Linked DNA regions of Homo sapiens: region 1 is linked to region 2. The links are contacts of gene promoters, found by promoter capture Hi-C in human tissues and cell types (Jung and others, 2019). All regions are on one chromosome and are shown on one strand. Each heading gives the region's core, a stretch centred on a gene start or on the middle of the fragment in contact. The rest is flanking DNA. Distances are from core to core; before and after follow the strand shown. Region 1 overlaps USP36 (ubiquitin specific peptidase 36). Region 2 holds the start of C1QTNF1-AS1 (C1QTNF1 antisense RNA 1).

The links. Contacts are between HindIII fragments. The study calls those that stand out against the background at their distance.
Region 1: a fragment that was not itself captured here is called in contact with the fragment with the promoter of C1QTNF1-AS1 in region 2 in 2 of the 25 tissues and cell types used here (mesendoderm cells and spleen).

What each region holds. Positions count from the first base shown.
Region 1 is chr17:78,832,579-78,835,278 of GRCh38, reverse strand. The region is part of intron 4 of USP36 (ubiquitin specific peptidase 36); the gene reads left to right. Among named protein-coding and RNA genes, the nearest start is that of USP36, 6.9 kb to the left of the region's middle. The HindIII fragment of the contact is 6,692 bases long and covers 1-2,700 here.
Region 2 is chr17:79,026,256-79,028,955 of GRCh38, reverse strand. It overlaps C1QTNF1-AS1 (C1QTNF1 antisense RNA 1), which reads left to right and starts at 1,301. Exons shown (of 3, transcript NR_040019.1): 1 at 1,301-1,580. The region is part of intron 1 of C1QTNF1 (C1q and TNF related 1); the gene reads right to left. The HindIII fragment of the contact is 4,721 bases long and covers 1-1,323 here.

The sequences.
Region 1 (2,700 bases), core at 21-2,520, 190 kb after region 2:
TGAGTGTGGGTTTGCAGCAGTGGGGTGGCTGTGGGTCCTCTGGATTAGATAAGCCCATGCACTTGTGGCACTGCTGCTCTCAGTCTGGGTCAAATTTAGGAGGGTAGTTCATAATGTATAGTAACTGATGAAACCTAAATTTGAATCATGCCTGCTGCAGAATGGGCCATGAAGGTGAATCGGTCAGGTGGGGCTGTGTTCGCCAAGCTTTTCTGTAAATAATTACCCAGACAGAAACGTTTTCAAAAGATACTTCCAAAATATATATATATATATATATACAAATATTATTTTTTTAGAGACAGTATCTTGCTCTGACACCCAGGCTGGAATGCAGTGGCTCCATCACAACTCGTTGTAGTCTTGAACTCCTGGGCTCACATGATCCTCCCATCTCAGCCTCCCAAAGTGCTGGGATTATAAGTGTGAGCCACCATGCCTAGCCCAATTGTTTTATGCATCTGTTGTTGTATCAGCATATCTTATGTGTATTATAAAACGTGCAGCCTGGACAACACAGCAAGATCCCATCTCTACAAAAACAAATCAAGGCCGGGCACGGTGGCTCACACCTGTGGGAGGCAGAGGTGGGCAGATCACTTGAGGTCAGGAGTTGGAGACCAGCCTGGCCAACATGGCGAAACCCGGTTTCTACTAAAAATATAAAAATTAGGCGTGATGGGGTGCACCTGTAATCCCAGCTGCTCGGGAGGCTGAAGCAGGAGAATTGCTTGAACCCAGAAGGTGGAGGTTGCAGTGAGCTGACCAAGATCATGCCGCTGCACTCCAGCCTGGGTGACAGAGCAAGACTCCATCTCACACACACAAAAAACAAATCGAAACAATTAGCTGGATGTGGTGGTGTGCTCTATTTGATTAAAATAGAGGTGAAATAAGATATAACTTACCAAAACTGAAAGAAATAGAAAGTGAAGAGTCTTTTAACTATTAAAGAAATTAAAGCATTGGTTAAAAATCTTCCCATAAAAAACCCCAAGCAGAGACAATGTTATTTCTGTGTAACTTTTTTTTTTTTTTGAGACGGACTCTGTTGCCTAGGCTGGAGTACGGTGGTGTGATCTCAGTTCACTGCAACCTCCGCCTCCTGGGTGCAAGCAATTCTCCTGTCTCAGCCTCCCAAATAGCTGGGACTATAGACGCACGCCACCACGCCTGGCTAATTTTTGTATTTTTAGTAGAGATGGGGTTTTACCATGTTGGTCAGGCTGGTCTTGAACTCGTGACCTCAGGTGATCCAACCGCCTTGGCCTCCTAAAGTGCTGGGATTACAGGTGTGAACCACTGTGCCCAGCCAATTTCTATGTAACTTTTAAGAAACAATTCCAATCCTTTACACGTTCTTCCAAAGAATAGAGGAGGAGAGAATCTTTCCCAGCTCATTCTATAAAGTTCCTATAACTCGGATAACAATAATAAGGAAAATGCGAGAAAGAAAATGGATAACCACAACTTCTTCACGAACATAGATATAAAAATTGTAGGAAAATACTACCAAATGACACAGTTTCTAAAAAACTGTAAGCAACTTATGTTTATCCTAGGAATGCAGGATGTTTTCATCGCAGAAAATCTCTAAGTAGAATTCTGGAGGGAGCAGAGCAGTTGAAAACACAGCTCAGGAGCCTGGCCTGTAGGGTTTGCTTCCCAGTTTGCCCCTTAGTAACTGTGAGTTTTTGAGAATGTCCCTGGTCTATGGAAGAATGAGACTGTCTTCCTTACAGAGTTGCGTGAGGCTCCGATAAATTCTGAGTGAGTCAAGTGCCTGGAGTAGCAGCCCGCAAAGAGGGAGTGCTATAGAAGTGACTGCTACTGGCTGGGCACGGTGGCTCACACCTGTAATCCCAGCTACTTGGGAGGCTGAGGCAGGAGAATCACTTGAACCTGGGAGGCAGAGGTTGCATTGAGCTGAGATCACACCACTGCACTTTAGCCTGGGCAACAGAACAAGATTCCGTCTCAAAAAAACATAAAAAAAAGAACACAAGATGGCCATGCAGTGGGAAGTGTTTGTAAACATCTTGCTAATTGCGATGGCTTCATAGCAGCAAAGGTTAATTATCAAGGCATAGTTGTTGAGATGAAGCAGCACATTGTTTGGGGGCGTTTTTTGGAGATGGAGTCTCGTTCTGTCGCCCAGGCTGGAGTGCAGTGGTGCAATCTCGGCTCACTGCAACCCCCGCCTCCTGTGTTCAAGAGAGTCTCCTGCCTCAGCCTCCCAAGTAGCTGGGACTGCAGGTGCCCGCCACCACGCCTGGCTAATTTTGTATTTTTAGTAGAGACGAAGTTTCACCATGTTGACCAGGCTGGTCTTGAACTCTCGACCTCAGGTGATCTGCCTGCCTCTGCCTCCGAAAGTGCTGAGATTACAGGCATGAGCCACCGTGCCCTGCAGAAGCACATTGTTGAGATGGCTAATTGTAGCCCCTATTTCCAGTGGTGACCTTGGTAATTTTGAGGTGGTTCTGGGTGGACTTTCAGTAAGATTTGACTAGATGGCTGTTGTTTTCGTCTCATGGTTTTGGCAGTAAGACTCTGCTATCCCAGGCCTGTCAGGGCTCTTCCACTGTAGAGCTGCCTTCCATTCTTGGTTTCTCTGCAGGATCTTTTTGAGCCAGTTGCCAACTTTGTGAGGATTAATTTAGTTAAAACTAGATAATATCTGTAAATCCCCGTAACCTG
Region 2 (2,700 bases), core at 52-2,551:
TGGATTTAGGCACAGGATCACCAGGAACACCCGCGCGTGCATGCACACACACACACACACACACACACACACCTTAAAATGTGAGGGGCTTGGGCAGTGTGGCCCATCGGATGTGCATTTTTAGGGCACTGCTTTTGTAGGGTGAAGAGACACCAGCATGCTGGCAAGCTCTGAAGAAGGGAGGAAAAGACCCATGTGCTGGGGTACAGATGATTTTTCTCTCCCGACCAGTGCCCTCTAATGGGCACAAGCAGACCTGAGCTCTGAGTTGCAAAGGAATCTAAGTTCACGCACCACACGGGGAGGACCCTCAGGACCATGGGCCTTGCCCTCATTGATATCCTTTCATGGAGGAGGGGGCTCCCCTGAATGCCAGAGGACGCAAGAGACCTGTGGTCACCCCCTAACCCACCCAGATCCTTCCATCTCTCACTTTAGATTCTTTACAAGGAGAATGGGTCTAAGCGTTTTCTGAACACACCTCTGTCCCCAGCTCTGAAGACTGGCCCCAGGAACCTGTGGGCAGAGTCAGGGGGCCCTGCCCGCCTTCTGACCTACATCTGCCTCGAACCCACCCAGGGCTGGCAGCTTTCCCAGCAGCTTCCCTGCTCCCCAGGGCAGAGGGTGGCTGTTATCCAGATGTCTTGCTGAGGGGGATGGGTACAACCCAAAGCATAGGGTTTGGGGCATTCCACCAAGTGTGGCTTTAGCCGTGGCCAAGAACAACATTTGACCCAGCACAGGGCACCAAGAACTTGACTTCCCCATGCCCCGCCTGCCTGTCTGCCTCTTCTCCTCCTCCCCTCGACTCCTGCCTCCCTGCCTGCCGTCTCCTGCTCTACTCTGTCTCGTGTCAAGGAAAATTCCTACAGGAGCCAGGGAGATGGGCAGACACCGGCCCGGCCACAGCCGTCCCGACGGCCGTCCTGGACAGGATGGGGGCCCGGGGAGGGGCCTGCAGTCTGTGCCAGCCCCATCTGAAGCTGGAGAACGGCTTAGATCCAGGGGGCCTCAGAGGCAAGATAGCAGTGCCCTGGTGTACAGTGGGGACTGTGGGGGTCCCCGTGCCCCTGCTGGAGACCATCCCCCTTTGAACCACATTCAGATGCCAAGCCCAGCTCTGGAAATCAAATGTAGGCAAGAACAGGCAGCTGGAGGGGTGCTGATTTGCCAAGAGCCACTCATATCACCCCAGCACAAGTGTCACACAGCCGTGACCTTGACAAGGACCCAGAGATAAAGATCCTTCCCACATGGCTCCGAAGCCCCTCCCTTCCTGCTCACACCGCATGCCTCTCCCAGAGAACTAGAGGCTGCAGCGGCAGCAGTTGGAGCATCTCACTGCGGGGCTCGGGAAGGAGGAAAGGAGTGAGCATGTCCTGCTCCTGCATGTCCCTGCTTAAGCTCAGGACTGGCCCTTCCAGGCCAAGGACCCCAGCATAGACCCCAGGACAGGGCCCCAAGGATCCCTGGCTCATGAGAGCGGCTTGCTGGGCTGCCCCAAGAGAGCCTGAAGGAAACACATTGTTGAGCTGAGCTGACGTCGCTGTTTCTTCCAGACTGCTCTCTAAAGTGGGCAGGTGAGTTCTTGCCCTGTATGAAGGGGTCAGGGAGATGGCAGGGTCCTGTCCAGAGAGCTGCCTTGTGCCATTTGACACCAGCAGGCCAATTTCAGCAGGTTAACAGGGGAAATGGCAACCTGTGGCCCATGAGGGAGTGCCCCCACTTGAACATCTCTAGAGGCTACTGATTGTCAGGCAGAGGTGGGATCGTCCAGGGGATGGTGTAACCTGCTACTTCTTCCTGCCCTTCCTGGTGTCCGTCACCCCCACCCCTTCCCTAAGGTTCTGGAGCCTCAGCCACAGCCCCCCCCCGCCCAGGAACAGGGACCCCTGAGGACAAGACACAAATGGGAAGCTCCAGTCCCTGCGCACAACTGTATCTATGAAATTCTTTTCATCTTTGTTTTGATGAGCAAAGTTCAATGCCAGAATATTTGGTTTATGAGTCATGCTAATTACAGCTGGGGGGAGGCACCAGGAAGAAGAACAGAAAGGAGCATGTTCCAAAAACACTCTGTTGTCCTGGTTGCCCTGAAAAGGGGGGTCACTTCCTAGGAACAAGGAGGGAACCCATGGCCTTCCTGGGACAGCTTGGGCTTTCTCTGCTCCTACTTGGGAGGACGTCCCTCGCCAGCTGGCTGCACCTGCCTGGGAGGGGCAGTGGTGTCCTGTAGCCGCACAGCGCCCACCTAGGGCTTCCTGCACCATGCTTCCTGCCTCCCTGAATGAGCTCACTGGGGACACCACCCTTGGCAACACAAGAGGAGGAGAGGGAGGCGGGAGGAGAAGTAGAGAGTCCCTGGGTAGCGGACCTGTGTCCTTCCTGCCCCTGGGCATTCTCTGTTAGCAGCTGGGAGAGAGAAGTTCCCAGCATCAGCTTGGCGAGCTGAGTGCCATGTTCCCAACACCAGATAGGAAGGTTAAAAGTATACGCCCCGGAGGCCAGGCGCGGTGGCTCACCCCTGTAATCCCAGCACTTTGGAAGGTTGAAGCGGGTGGATCACTTGAGGTCAAGAGTTTGAGACCAGCCTGACCAACAGGGTGAAACCCAGTCTCTACTAAAAATACAAAATTAGCCAGGCGTGGTGGTACACACCTCTAATCCAGCTACTTGGGAGGCTGAGGCAGGAGAATCGCT